Regions from separate parts of the Homo sapiens genome. Here all the other regions are linked to region 2. The links are contacts of gene promoters, found by promoter capture Hi-C in blood cells and fetal thymus (Javierre and others, 2016). All regions are on one chromosome and are shown on one strand. Each heading gives the region's core, a stretch centred on a gene start or on the middle of the fragment in contact. The rest is flanking DNA. Distances are from core to core; before and after follow the strand shown. Region 1 has its middle 42 kb from the start of NR1D2. Region 2 holds the start of UBE2E1 (ubiquitin conjugating enzyme E2 E1). Region 3 overlaps LOC105376993 (a long non-coding RNA gene).

Region 1 (5,067 bases), core at 237-2,736, 180 kb after region 2:
TTACCCTATTTTGTTATAGCAGCAGGAGTTGGACTAACAGTTCTCTTCTGTGTCAGGCTTCTTCACCCAGCATAATGTTTTTGAGGTTCATTCATGTCATTCGTGTATTGGCAGTTTGTTCCTTTTTATTGCAAGTCATGTTCCATTGTATAGATGCATCATGGTTTATCCATACGCCTATCGAATGGACATCTGGATTGTTTCCAGTTTGGTTATTATGTATAAAGCTGTTAGGAACACTCCTTTGTATTTGCAGTTGCACTGTTTTGTGACTTAACCCTGGTATATAATCTGTGCTAAGTTCTAAGAGTTCAAGAAGCAGTATATAATGGAAAGCATGATAAACGAAAGTAAATCATGAAAAGAATTAATACTTTCTGTATTACTGAAGGAGCAGTGCATCAATTAGAAGGTGCTTAAGCTCTGTCTAAAAGGGAGTTCAGGCAGAGCATAGTGTCTCATCCCTGTAATCCCAGCTCTTTGGGAGGCCAAGGTGGGAGGATTGCTTGAGGCCAGGAGTTCAAGACCAGCCTGTGCAACATAGTGAGCCCTCATCTCTATTAAAATATTTCAGAATTAGCTGGGTTTGGTGGTTTGAGGCTGTACAATGAGCTGTGCACTCACTGTAACCACTGCACTCCGGCCTGGGCAACAGAGCAAGACCCTATCTTTAAAAAAATAAAAATTAAAAAACATGGAGTTCTGTAATAAGGATGCTTATTAATTTTTTTTCCTACACAAGACTTCTAGAGGCAGGACAATTTCAGGCTGGTTCAGTGGCTTCACAAATGCCATAAAAAACACAGGCACCTACCTTACACCCATTAGGATGGCAACTATCAGGAAGAAAAAAAAAACACCAGAAAATAAGTGCTGGTGAGGATGTGGGGAAGTTGGAACCACTGTGCACTGTTGGAGATGTAAGTCAGTGCAGCTGCTGTGGAGGACAGTATGGCAGTTCCTCAAAAAATTAAAAATAGAACTACCATATGATCCAGCAATTCCACTTCTGGGTATATACCCCAAAGAATTGACAGCAGGCTCTCGAAGAGATATTTGTACTCACATTTATAGCAGCATTATTCATAATAGCCAAAATGTGGGAAAACCCCAGATTTCCATAGAAGGATGAATGAATAAACAAAATGTGCTATTATTGAGCCTCAAAAAGGAAGGATATTCTGACACATACTACAACATGGATGCACCTTGAAGACATTGTGCTAAATGAAATAAGCCAGTCACAAATACTGTAAGATTCTACTTATGTGAAGTACTTTGAGTAGTCAAATTCATAGAAACAGAAAGTAGAAAAATAGTTACCAGGGTTTGGGAGGAGGGGGAAAGGGGGAATTATTTCAGAATTTCAGTTCTGCAAGATGAAAAGAATTCTAAACTAAGAGTGGAACTGGCATGTCCCTGACACAAAGAAATGATATGCTTGAGGTGATGGGTACCCCAATTACCCTGATTTGATCATTATACATTATATGCCTGCATCAAAATGACACATGTACCCCATAAATACATACAACTGTTATGCACCCATAATAATTTTTAAGAATTCTTGAGATGGGTTGTACAACAAAGTGATTGTATTTAACACTATTGAAGTGAACACTTAAAAATGGTTAAGATGGGCCAGGCGCGGTGGCTCATGCCTGTAATGCCAGCACTTTGGGAGGCTGAGGCAGGTGGATCATGAGGTCAGGAGATGGAGACCATCCTGGCTAACACGGTGAAACCCCATCTCTACTAAAAATACAAAAAATTAGGTGGGCATAGTGGTGGGCACCTGTAGTCCCAGCTACTTGGGAGGCTGAGGCAGGAGAACGGTGTGAACCTGAGAGGCGGAGCTTGCAGTGAGTTGAGATCGCGCCATTGCACTCCAGCCTGGGCGACAGAGCGAGACTCTGTCTCAAAAAAAAAAAAAAAAAAGTTAAGATGGTAAATTTTATGTTATGTACATTTTACCACAATTAATTAAAAGAAAAGAAGGAACCTAGGAGTTCTGATCCTTCTTTGTCATCCTGTGCCTGTTTCTAATGTTTTCTCTCATGGTTGCAAGATGGCTGCCACAGTTCAGGCATCACAGCAGAGGTACCATTTCCAGATAAGAAGGGCAGAGACCTTCCTCTTGTATGTTAGGGGGGAATCTTTTCCAGAAGGCTCTAGCGGGCTTCACCCTTCAGTTCCTGTTGGCCAGACTGGGTCTCCTGCCTCAAGGGAGCCTGGGAAAGCAAGTATCTAACATTTTTCAGCCTCTGTAGAGAGCAGCGGGCTCTTCCAGAAAGAAGCTGTTGGGGAAAGGCTATTGGGTAGGCCACTGATGTGGTTTGGCTCTGTGTCCCCAACCAGATCTTGTGTCGAATTGTAATTCCCAGTGTTGGGGTAGGGACCTGATGGGAGGTGATTGGATCATGGGGGCGGAATTTCCCCTGGCTGTTCTTGTGAGAGTGAGTTCTCATGAGATCTGGATGTTTAAAAGTGCCTCCCCCTTCACTCTCCACCTCTCCTGGTCCTCCATGGTAAGACGTGCTTGCTTCTCCTTTGTCTTCTGTCACGATTGTGTAAATTTCCTGAGACCTTCCAGCCATGCTTCCTGTATAGATAGCCTGCAGAACTGTGAGTCAATTAAAGCTCCTTTCACCATAAATCGTCTGGTCTCAAGTAGTTCTTTTTTTTTTTTTTAGACAGAGTCTCACTCTGTCGCCCAGACTGGAGTGCAGTGGCGTGATCTCGGCTCACTGCAACCTCTGCCTCCTGGGTTGAAGCAATTCTCCTGCTTTAGCCTCCCAAGTAGCTGGGATTACAGGTGCCTGCCACCACGCCTGGCTAATTTTTGTATTTTTAGTAGAGACAGGGTTTCACTATGTTGGCCAGGCTGGTCTCAAACACCTGACCTCAGGTGATCAGCCTGCCTTGGCCTCCCAAAGCGCTGGGATTACAGGCGTGAGCCACCACACCCGGCCAGTTCTTTTTGTTTTTAATTTGTTTTTTCCCCTTCCTTTCTTTCTCCTTCCTTCCTTCCTTCCTTCCTTCCTTCCTTCCTTCCTTCTTCTCTCTCTCTTTCTTTCTTTTTTTTTTTTTGAGACAGGGTCTCACTTTGTCACCCAGGCTGGAGTGCAGTGGTGTGATCTTGGCTTACTGCAGCGTCGACCTCCTGGGTTGAAATGATTCTTCTACCTCAGCACCCCAAGTAGCTGGGACTACAGGCACACACCACCACGCTCCGCTAACTTTTTGGTAATTTTTATAGAGATGGGGTTTTACCATGTTGCCCAGGCTGGTCTCGAATTGCTGAGCTCAAGTGATCCACCCACCTTGGTCTCCCAAAATGCTAGGATTACAGGTGTGAGCCACCATATTCGGCCTCAGGTAGTTCTTTTTTTTTTTTTTTTTTTTTGAGACCGAGTCTCGCTCTGTCACCCGGGCTGGAGTGCAATGGTGGCATCTCCGCTCACTGCAGTCTTTGCATCCCGGGTTCAAGCGATTCTCGTGCCTAAGCCTCCCGAGTAGCTGGGACTACAGGTGTGCACCACCATGCCCAGCTAACTTTTGTATTTTTAGTAGAGACGGGGTTTCTCCATGTTGCCTAGGCTGGTCTCAAATTTCTGAGCTCAAGTGATCCACCCTCCTTGGCCTCCCAAAGTGCTGGGATTACAGGCCTGAGCCACCACACTCAGCCTCAGGTAGTTCTTTATAGCATTGTGACAACGGACGAATATGGACACCAAGAGTCATCCATATCTTCTACATCGAATAGTAAGGAACAAAGGGTCCTTCTTTGTGAGCTCAGTACTGATGGCCATCATCAGCGGTGACCAGAACAACATCCTGGTTGATAGGAATGCAGGGCCAGATACATGAAGGGCCAGAGCAAAAATAGATGAAGGTCCTCAGTCTGCCTTTGTCCTTTTTCCACTCCTGCCGTTGTCCCCTAGCATGAAGGACCTCTCCAGTGGTGTGCTGGGGCCAGTTCTTACCAGCTCATGAAAGCCAATGTTTCAGGAATTTTGTGAGCCAGTTGACTTCGCATTGGTAGCTTGAGATTGGCCATGGTGGGAGTAGTATTGATTTTATGGAAATCAGTAAATGCTACAGATAGGGCTCCTTCCACCCCTAGCACCCGCCTGCAGCTAAGCCTCTCACGCATAACGGTGGACATCCCAGCTCCTGAGTCCAAGCTGTCTACCTTATCTTTCACACTGTCACCTCCTGAGCCACCCCTTTGGGCCTAGGTCTGCGCACCATGGGCAGTGAGGTCTGCCTGCAGGAGGACCAAGGAAAGAGTCTCAGGGCCTGCCTGGAAGGCCCAGGTCCCTCTGGCCAGGGAATTACATTAATTGGAGCTTGGTCTAGAAGGGGTTCTGGGCTCTGGGAAGGTGTGTCTTCTTGGCTTAGGGCAGGGGCACAGTCAGAGGAGGGCCAGAGTTGGGCCTTCTGTGGCCCCCGTAGCCTGAGTTACAGGGAGGAGAAAAGAGGGAGAATCCTTCTGTCCCCTCTCCCCAACCCTGTGCCTCTGCCTGGATAGGAGAGAAAACCTCCACCCTCATCCATCTGCCTCATTTCCCCATGGATGGAGAATTGCCGGTCTAATATTTCAGAACCCAGGACACTTATTCATGGGCCATGTTTTAGTAGTGGACAAGCTTACTGTGCCTTAAAGCTTAGGGTCTCTGTAAGATACAGCTTTGGTGATTGTGTTCTCCTGCGGGGCAAGCACACCTGGGCAGCATACCGCCTGTGACTGCACCTGGGTGTGAAACTCAGGTTGGAATCATATCCACTTTAGATTCAGGGAGGAGAGAGCATGACGCCTCCTGACTTGAGTTGGCTAGGATTAGATACAGCCTGTATCTTGAATACCTCCTAGTACAGTGGTTCTCAAAGGGTAGCCCTCCAACCATCATCATCATCCCTACCTAGAATGCAGATTCTGGGGTCATACGACAGACCACCTGGATCAGAGGCTGGGGGATAGGGCCCAGCAGTCTGTGTTTTAACAAGTTTTCCAGGTGATTCTGTTCCAACTGAAAGATTGAGAACCACTGCTCTAGAAGAATA
Region 2 (5,011 bases), core at 1,224-3,723:
TATTTGACCTTGCCAGTCAGTAGAGCACAGGTATTTCTGCCCTTTATGGATGAGGGAACTGAGGCTCAGGGAGGTCAATTTAGCTTTTTAGGCCTTGTAGTTAATAAGAAGGAGAGATAGAAAGTTGTGTATGAATTTTTTTTCCCCTAAGACAGCTGCATACAGGTCTTAAAAATAATTCGACATAAAGATTAGTCTTTTGAGAGGACTGGATTCTTTTCTAAACATTTTGAAGTTTTTATTCCCTGTCATCAGGTCATTCCAAAACGATAAAGCACTAACTTAAGCTAGCTGGAATTAGAGATTAGGGGGAACAGTACACAAAAGAGGGCAAGAAACCTTCCAGACAGGTGGTTGGGAAATCACTTTTCCTTATAGGAGGAGCTGTTAGATTTCATGATTTCTTTCACAAGGAATCAGTCCAACCCAAGCATCAGTAACACAACACAAAATATCATGTTCTGTTACAAAAGAATTCTTATTATAGCTGGTAGGCAATTTATGCAAACCAATATTAAAGAAAAAATTCACCTACTGTCCTGATCACTTCAGCAAATCAAACCTTTTATTTTCCTGTGATCTCTGCTAGTTCTTGTCTTTATAACACATGATTTTTTTACTGGTTGTATTCATAATGTAGACATATATTTTTAAGTATCAGAAATCCAAATTTTCATAGGAGGAAATTTCAATTTTAATAACTATTTTTAGATTATTTTCCTCATCCTGAGTTTATTTCATCTTCTTATTGTTTTCTTCTGAATTTACATCTTTTCATCAGAACAAAAAGAATACAATCAGTTTTTCAGAAGTTTAAAAAATTTTTTCAAATATATAGCAAAGAATGTCATCATTTTTATATACTCTACCAGGACTCCTGAAACCAAACACTTAAGAAAGGTTATGTCTGGAAATTTTTTCAAAATCTATATGCATTTCAGTGGTGGAGAAATAGTTCTGTCTGGAAGCAGGAGGCTGAAATTATGACCCTGAAGATTTCTTCCAGCTTTTGAACTTCTTATTCTATGACAACTCCTGGTAGATACAGGTTTCCTGGTAGGGATTGAGCAAGAAGCATGCACAATTACTTTATGAGTCTTGATAAAGCTGGAATTTCAGGTTGATGGTTAGAAGGAGTTCGGCTGGGTCGTGAGAATGCTTGTTTTCCTGGTTACTGGATATGCCATGGGCTGTATATCTTGTGTTGTCCTGTGGTAACTGAAGCCACTGTTGCTGTGGAAAATGATGGCAGTTTGAATGAGATAATTTAGAGTGACCTATGGAAATCTGAGGCTGTCTCCTTAATGTACAAGACCTTGTATGTGTGGCACTGTTGTATTTGAATGGCACACATCTCTTTAGTTCCCTTCAACTGAAATGACAAAAGGTGAGAAACTGAATCGTAATTTGATGGCTTAATATTAAAAAAAAATTGGCAAAAATGCTAAATAAGGAACAATTCAGAAGAATTGCTGATCATTTCAAAAATATTATTTGCATAGCATTTATAGGTAGCTAAAGAAAGAGAAAAATGGCTTAATATTTTAAAAATAATTTGGTCAATTTAGCGATCTGGGGATTCTGCGATCCCCAGAACTTTGCATCCAATTTCCAAAAACCAAACCTTACATCTAATGTAAAATGACACAAAAAATTCTAAATCCAGTCTAATTCAGTAGTATATAGCTTATTCCCAGTGATGTCTCACATTCGCAAGCCCGTTACACGTTGGTTTTACCTGTCACCAAAACCTTTGTATCACTCTTATAAAAAACCACATCACTTTCTATAAAAAGTGAGTGGAAGAATCTAATATTGTAAAACTGCACGTGCCTCGCGTGACCTGAGCAGAAAATTCCTAGTTTGGGATTTTCTCACAGGCATACCTAAACTGACCTCTGCTCCTAGCAGGTAAATTGCTAGAAGGAGAAGCAAGTGTCAGTCCAAAGAAAACCCTTGTTGTGTGATTTTTTTTTTCTCTTTAATCGCTTTTTAGGTGGAGTACCCGCTGCATTCTCTAAAGTCTTTGCCACCACCAGATTACCAACGTTTTCACCAATTTGCCACCTCCCTACTCCTCTCCTTTCCAAAAGCCCTCATTGGAAAGAACTTTCTCTCGTGACCCCCCTATTCCATCTAGTTCCAATCACTCCCAGCGCCCCCCATCTCCATCGGCTTCCCCTCTCCCGCCCAGAATCCAGGTTCCCAAACCACTTAAGAGAAAATTCACAACCCTCGCCCCCTTCCCGGGCGTCCGGAGGAGGCGCTGGGGTGGGGGTGTCTGTGGGGGACAGGGTTTCCTGGGGTCTCCTGGGTCTTCCTCGCGCACCCCCAGGAGGTGTTGCAGGGGGAGGGGAGCGCGGGTGGGTGGGACCGGGCCGGGTGGGGGAGGGGTGAGGGCGAGGAGGAGGAGGAGGAGGAGGCGGCGGCGGAGGAGTGGTGTGTGTGCGAGCGTGTGTGGCTGGGGGAAGCCATTGCCTGTTTAATAGTTGCTGTTGCTGCACTTCCGCTTCTCTCCCAGCGAGAGAGAGACACGAGTGGCCAGGCCCAGCCGCAGCCGCAGCAGCAGCCGCCGCGGCGGCACGGAGGAGCCAGACACAAAGAGAGGTACGGGGATCCCCCCAGCGGCCCGCCGCCCCCCGGCCGCGCCGCCGGGCCTCGGGGACACCCCTCGCCGCCTCCCCCGACTCGCGCCGCCGGGGCCGCCGGGCCGCAGGGCACGGGGCCGGCGCGGGGGGGGAGCGGAGAGGGGCTGGGGAGCCCCAGGGGTCCGGGGCCCGCCCGCGGGGGATGGGCAGGGACCCCGGGCCGCGTGGGGTGCGGGGGCCGCCCGCATTGAGGACGGGGGTCATTGTGGCTCGAACTGTCAGCGCTGCCCCAAGAGCCCCCCACTGGCCACCGAGGGGCCCGGGAGCGGGGGTGGGAGGGAGTTGGGGGAGCCCCGTTTTCCCCAGGGGCGGGGGTTCGCGGGGATTAACCCCTCCGGGGCGGAAGGGCTCATTGTTATGTCTTCGCTGCGGAGGCCGACCCCCCCATTCCCCGCCGCAGCCCCTATCCCCCTACAGGAGTGGCGATCGGGCGTGTGCTCCGGACCCCCGCCCGGCCGCATAGCTGTGAGCAGGGCGGCCAGAGGCAGGCAGGCCGGGAGGGGCGTCGGGGCGCGGCGCGGGGGGGCCTCGGGCCTCGTCGCCCCTGCCCCCCGCCGGCCTCTCCCTTCCCCCACCCGGGCACCCGCTCCCCGCCTCCGTCCCCCTGTTTCGGCTTCCTCTCTTACTCCTTCCCGCCCCTCCTCTCTTCCCGACCTCGCCAAACTCCGCTCGTGGCCCCACAGTCTCACCCGGGCCACCGGCCCCTCACGACCCCCGGAAAGCGGACAAAAACAGCCCCGAGGCCGGCCGGCCGCCGGGACCTTCCCTCCCTGCCCCGCCGTGGCGCCCCGCGCCCCCCGCCCTGCCCTCCTTCGCCTCCCGGGCTACTCCCTCCCTGCCCAGCGGAGAGCCCCGGGGGGCGAGGGAGGGGCCTCTCTCCTAGCTCCAGACCGTTTTCCCACAGCGTTCCCCACTTGGGGCCAAAAATAAACAAGCCGCGTCCGATTTGCAAAAGCCTTAATGGGCCTGCAGACTTTGAAAAGCGAGTGGAGGGCGGTGGGCGGCCGCGTGCGCCCCTGGTCAATGCCCTCCTGACAGCACCCGAGTTCCTTATTTACACTGGCTGCATGGTTTGTGTGTTTCTGTTTTGTTTCTCTCCCCCTGCAGGGGCTGTTTGCGGGGTGGGGTGGGGGGTTCGCTATGTCGGATGACGATTCGAGGGCCAGCACCAGCTCCTCCTCATCTTCGTCTTCCAACCAGCAAACCGAGAAAGAAACAAACACCCCCAAGAAGAAGGAGAGTAAAGTCAGCATGAGCAAAAACTCCAAACTCCTCTCCACCAGCGCCAAGAGGTACTGTGCTCTTTTTTTTTTCCACAGGCTTCCTATTTCCGAACTGCCTCTTGCTGCATTTGGTCTGCCTCCCAATGAGGATAGCTTAAACGCTCCTCATGGTTTATGTGTTCTTAAAAATGAAAGAAGGGCCTTGGAAGCCCTAATTATTTTCTCTATTGCTGCTTCTGTTTTTAAATCATTGCTCACATGCAGCTGTTGCGGCTTGCCTCTCGCATTTCTTGCTGAAGTTTGTAAGATTCCTCGTTACTTTTATTAGTGACCCCCAAATCTGATTTCAGATTTCTTGTCCTACTAATGGTTAATCTGTGACCTTCCCCAAGGCCATGATCCCATTTCTTAATTACTAATACCAGCCCAGAGAACTGCATCAAAATGAATTCTGTGACCATTTTACCTTCTCCTCACCTGTTGCATGGATGATCTTTTCTAAATAGAGCTTTCTTCACAAATTGCATAAGGAATAAGAAACTCATATTAGCAGGTACAAAATTTAGTAGGTGAAGACAGATGTTTTCTGGTGGAATTTAAAGAGATTTTTCTGAGAGTTGAGGCAAATGAATGAATCAGTAAGTGACTATAAAATGGTTATTCTAGGTTATTTTTGTGGTTCTCTTTAAAAACTTCAGTTTACCAATTTCAGGGAGACTTGTCTTTTTTTCATGCTATTTGCTGTCCTCATGCTGTGAAAATGTTACTTTGCCTTATTTTTTCAATTTAAGTGGTCTCCCTTTTACTTTATTCTTTTCCTCTTAAGGCCCTGAAGGTAGCTACTTTTTATCCCTGCCATCCTAAGCGGTCACCCTTTTTCTTTATTCTTTTCCTCTTAAGCCTCTGGAGGTAGCTACTTTTTACCCCTGCCATCCTTCAGTAATATCCTCTGATCGCCATGACCCTCAAAATCATCTTTAGTGGATTCCTAGGAGCTCTGAGACACCCTTTCATAAATCCTTCTGCTCTCAGAGTTAGGCAGTTGTTAAAAAGGTGGCAAACCAGGAAGATAGTAAGAACTCCAAATGATGGGATAGGGATACCCTTCTTAAAAATTTTTAAAATAAAGTAGAACATGAG
Region 3 (4,990 bases), core at 182-2,681, 160 kb before region 2:
GGCTGTTTCTCTTGGAGGTGACTTTCTGCAAGGCTCTCCTCCCTGACAGGGAGCAGGATCGGGGACAGTGTGTAGGAGCCTGCAGTCTCCAGCTGCTCTAAGTGAGCTTAGGTGGGAAAAATCAATTCAGTGGAAAGTCATGGGACAGACACTTTGGCTTCAGATCCAGGTTTGCAGTAATAAATTTGATGTTTTGATCCCTAAACTGACTTGTAGATCTGTTTCATATTTAGTTCAGAATCTGAAAGGAAAGAGTGTGAATTTTTTTTGACACTTTAAAATCTCAACTAATGATTTACTTTCTCACAAATATTTCTATTCTTAAAATAGGGGGCCTTCTGGAGCCATCTCAGTTAGGAAAACTTGTGATCGCAAGTAACCAAAAAAAAAAAAAAAAAAAAAAGCCATAATGGCTGCATTCATTTGGGTCCTATGAGAGGAAAATGCCAAGACAGGATTAGATGTGCAAGCAATTTATTGGAGCAGTGCTGGAGAAGCATAAAAAGGAAAAGGCCAGAGAAGGCAGAGAGAACCTTCAGGCCGTGGTGCTGGTCTGACGTGTATGAAGAAAAGAGGGGAGGAAGGCAGATGGAGTAGAATGTCTTAGATTGCAGTGCGGGTCCAAGAAAGTTGTGGCCAAGGCTGATGGGAATCCTTGACGCAGTGTTGCCCATTGGTGTATCCCTGTGTCTCACAGGAATAAGAAACCTGCATTGGCTGTGCTTCGTCACTGATTCAGGAGCAGCCTGTGGAAAGCGTGGCCTCAGCATCAATGTGGTGGTGAACCCAGAGGAGTGGAAACAAGGCCAACTATTATGCTCCCTGCAGCAGGAGACCTGAGTGGTGCATTGTCCTGGCCATCACAATGGCTTGATCAGGTAAGGGTTTGGTTTCTCCCATAATAATAGTTTGAATTAGGTAGGCATCTGCTGGCTTCAGGCCAGTGTTCCTGCTTTATTTTGGGCATGCCATTGTGGCCTCGCAATCACTGCAGCCACTGCAATCATCACATCTGCAGTCAGCAAGGAGAAAGGTGGAGTGGCAGCACCTCTAGCAAGAAAACCAAAACACTCTGTGAGCCTCACAGCAGCCTTCTCTTGGGTCTCATTGACCACACAGCTGGAGCATGTGGCATCCCTGGAAGGGAGCTTAGAGAGAAAAAGTTGGGGAAGAATATTGGGTCAGCCACCATGATCATGTGCCTGCCACAGAGGCCCAACATAGGCCCCAGAGGAAGACCCTGATATTGGCATTTCAAGCCCCCGCGGATGCTATGTTGGGTAGTTAATTAAACCTGGCCCCGCTGTGCCTCCAACAGAAGCTTCCTGGTGCTTCTGGGTGATCAAGTCTCGGTGTACTCCATCGAAGTCTCTCAGGATGCTTTCTAATAGCTCAGCCTGGTGCAACATAGCATACAAATTAGACAGTTCATTTCTCAGAAAAGTATTTGTATTTTCTTTGGAGAGCTGACTATGTATTTGGAGAGGAAATGGCTTGTTGTTTGCCTGCCCTATCAGGTGCTTTTACTTGTGTCCTCTTGTTTAAGCTTCCCAATGGCCTTGCGTGTGTGGTGGATGTTCTCACAGGCATTGGGGTGGGTCTCCCTCTGTCTGCTCTACTCTCCTCTGTTGTGGCAGCCATGGGATTTGGGATGTGGACACCAGGCCCACAGGGTGGGCCTGATTAATCTAAGCCAGTCAGAGTAATCTCATTACCTTGGTAGTCATTGGTGCAGAAATGAGCTTGTAACCAATCTGGCGCAATGAGATTCAGGGGAAGGTTGCTGGGCTTCTGGGAACCTGTTTGCTTGGGCTAGAGAAAAAGCCACAGGAAGAGCAGTTTGTGTCTTCAGCTAAATGTGAACGGGAAAACCAGGAGCCCTAATTGCTGTGGCTGTATCCTGTGACCCTGAGAGCAGCCCTGTTTAGAACAGATCCAACACTGGATGGCAGCCTTGGAGTCAGAAAGAGCCTGGGTCCTTGAGGACATCACTGAGAAGCTGGACCAACCATCCTGATGACCTCACAATCTGTAGACGCCCAGATATGTGAGCCCATCTGTTTCCTTATGTGAAAGTTAATGTGGTTGGATTTTCTCTTACACTGAAAGCATCTAACTGCTCCAGGTGTTATGCCCGTTTTCAGTTGAGGAAGCTGATATCCAGAGAGATGGAGTAACTTGCCCAAGGTCGCACAGCTTGTGTGGCAGAGCTGGGCTCGGGACCAAGGTCTGACTGTTGGCTCCACACCCTGCAATTAATCTGCTGTTCACTGGGAGAGGTGATTCGTGTATTTCAAGATTATAAGAACAGCTCAGACATGCTTAACTTACTAAGAAACTGGTATTGGACTTTTCACACTTTCTCTGAGTTCAGAGCTGGGCCATTTCCTGTGTAACAGGGATCTCCAGAATATCAAAAGACTTCACAAATCACAGTGGTGCCAAAGAAGACAGATTTAATACTGGTTTTCAGGATGACATCAGTTCTTTTTCTCCATTTTTAAAAGTAGGCAGTAATGATGACAGCATATAAAACAAATATATACCAGGTCGTAGCTTCCAATTTCCTCTTATCAGAATTGACAAATGTCCCACACCGTGCAGGAAGAGTGCAGTTAAGAAGGGGCACAGAGTTATCTGTGAGTTTTCATTACTTTTGTTCATTATACTGCTGCATTCCCAATCTTTTCACCCTCAATCCTGTGGGTTAAAGGACTGCAAATGCAGCAGTGTAATGAGCAAAAGTCTAAGAACTTTTTCTGGAACAACTTAAAGTCTCAGAATTGGACAGAATTTGGAGGACAGCTGGTTTAGTCCCTCCCCCGTGGCAGGCAGGAGTCCCTCCCAGAGCACCCCCTGCTAGGCAGCCATTTAGCTTTCCCTAGAAAACGCTCTGGAGAGGAGTCACTCTTTTCTACTCTCCTTGCTAGGAAGCTCCTCATATTGCACTGACTTCGTGCTTATGTATTGTTATAAACCAAGTCACTGTTCTTCAGAGCAGAATGGATACCAGCTCATTAAAAGACAAATGGCGACAAATTATCTTTGTGACTGTGTTCTCTTCCCAAGGTGATCTGATGAGCCATCAGTAATAGATACCCCCCAATAGGGTGACCAAGCCTACTTACCCCTTTACCCCTTAACTCACTCTAGGTAGAAATGGGATACACATCCTGTCTGTGAATTTGATGTAACCCAGGAGAGAGACAAGGGGTAACTTCAAGGTTTTATGTAGCTGAAAGATGACCTTCAGGCGGGGGATGACTTTGTTTTTTGCCTTATTTTATTTTATTTTATTTCAAAATCACACATTTGTTTAGCTCTAAGAGTTAAATACCACTACAAAGCTAATAATGAAAAACAGCAGTCTCTACCTATGGTCTCCCTGTCTTTACATCTTCCTCTCCAGAGGCAACCCCTTGCAAGTCTTCTGGCCATTTCTTCTGGTGTTTATACTTAAATTTCTCAATAATGTGTTGATACTGTTATTTCTTGATTTTTCAGTTTTAGGTATAATCCAATTTCTTCCTATCACAGAAAATGAGGATTGAGCATGGCTTCACCTCTCCTTCCTTTCCCTGGTGCTGCTCCTGACCCCCAACCCCCACCACTCACATGCAAACTTCCTCTTCTATCTTCCCAATATAGTTGCATCATAGTTTTTGGTTGAGTCAACATGTATTATTTAGATTTATATGATGATGTAGATCTTGCTCACAGCTGAGCCATGCAATGAAATCCAGAAAGAATAAAGAGGCATGACTGACCTACTTAACAGAGAAAACACACATGTGACCTGAGGTGCCAAAGCCCTCCCTGGAGTGTTCCACACCAACTAATTCAGACTGCGGGGAAAGGATTGCTGAAGGTTACTTGTTCTGTGCCTGCCAGGTTGAAGCAAGACCAACTGCTGAAGGGGTGGGCGAGGTTTGCCTCCCTTCCTAAGGAGGTGGAAGTGTGAAGATTTTGCACACTGGACAAATAAAGAGATGAAAACAAGGGTGAACTCAAGACAGCAAAACAAAGCCATAAACCAGCCCCTACCCGTGTGGGAACCTTGCTGAAGAGTTTGATGTTTTTCCTTTTTCCTTTGCACTCTGGGAACAGTCATATGAAGCATCCTGTTTAAATACTTTTCTCCTTTGAAGCAATACCCTCTAGTTACTCATGACCCTTCAGTGATTCACAAACCATCTTGTGCTTCCTATGAGTTGATGTAGGGTGGGCTGGGGACCAGGCAGTAAGAGAAGCCTGGCGTCTCCACATCACCACTCTGCAAGCTTCCGTTTTCTCCAGAGTGTTCTGAGTCTGTCCTCCCCAACCCCTCCCTGTCGGGCTAGGCCATTTTGCCTGCTGTCCCTCCACCGGCATTGACAAGCCCTAGGGGCACCACTGCTTAGGGGAAGGGCAGCTTCTGCATGTGGCCCTCTCCTGGAGAAAAAACATGCTGATTTTGTTTTTAAAATAAATGTTAGCTGGAGCACTGGCTCACACCTGTAATCCCAGGACTGTGGGAGGCTGGGAGGATCACTTGAGCCCAGAACTTCAAGACTAGCCTGGGCAACATAGCGAGACCCCATCTCTACAAAAAAAAAAAAAATCTCCTTAAGCTGATAAGCAACTTCAGCAAAGTCTCAGGATACAAAATCAATGTGCAAAAATCACAAGCCTTCCTATACACCAATAACAGACAAACAGAGAGCCAAATCATGAGTGAACTCCCATTCACAGTTGCTTCAAAGAGAATAAAATACCTAGGAATCCAACTTACAAGGGATATGAAGAACCTCTTCAAGGAGAACTACAAACCACTGCTCAACAAAATAAAAGAGGACACAAACAAATGGAAGAACATTCCATACTCATGGATAGGAAGAATCAATATCATGAAAATGGCCATACTGCCCAAGGTAATATAAGATTCAATACCGTCACTATCAAGCTACCAATGACTTTCTTCACAGAACTGGAAAAAACTACTTTAAAGTTC

What was found. Contacts are between HindIII fragments. The CHiCAGO score rates a contact against its expected background, and 5 or more counts as called.
Region 1: a fragment that was not itself captured here is called in contact with the fragment with the promoter of UBE2E1 in region 2 in 1 of 17 cell types (neutrophils); the score reaches 5.1 in neutrophils.
Region 3: a fragment that was not itself captured here is called in contact with the fragment with the promoter of UBE2E1 in region 2 in 1 of 17 cell types (monocytes); the score reaches 5.3 in monocytes.

What each region holds. Positions count from the first base shown.
Region 1 is chr3:23,985,008-23,990,074 of GRCh38, forward strand. No RefSeq gene overlaps it. Among named protein-coding and RNA genes, the nearest start is that of NR1D2, 42 kb to the left of the region's middle. The HindIII fragment of the contact is 6,327 bases long and covers 1-4,650 here.
Region 2 is chr3:23,803,482-23,808,492 of GRCh38, forward strand. It overlaps UBE2E1 (ubiquitin conjugating enzyme E2 E1), which reads left to right and starts at 2,474. Exons shown (of 6, transcript NM_003341.5): 1 at 2,474-2,607; 2 at 3,756-3,940. The coding sequence starts at 3,789. It overlaps UBE2E1-AS1 (UBE2E1 antisense RNA 1), which reads right to left and starts at 3,424. Exons shown (of 2, transcript NR_046652.1): 1 at 3,338-3,424; 2 at 543-1,233. RefSeq lists silencers at 2,410-2,519, 2,600-2,729, 2,920-3,219, 3,420-3,599 and an enhancer at 3,900-3,989. The HindIII fragment of the contact is 12,732 bases long and covers 1-5,011 here.
Region 3 is chr3:23,646,838-23,651,827 of GRCh38, forward strand. It overlaps LOC105376993 (a long non-coding RNA gene), which reads left to right. Exons shown (of 3, transcript XR_940651.3): 1 at 1-169; 2 at 698-878. Among named protein-coding and RNA genes, the nearest start is that of UBE2E1, 160 kb to the right of the region's middle. The HindIII fragment of the contact is 225 bases long and covers 1,320-1,544 here.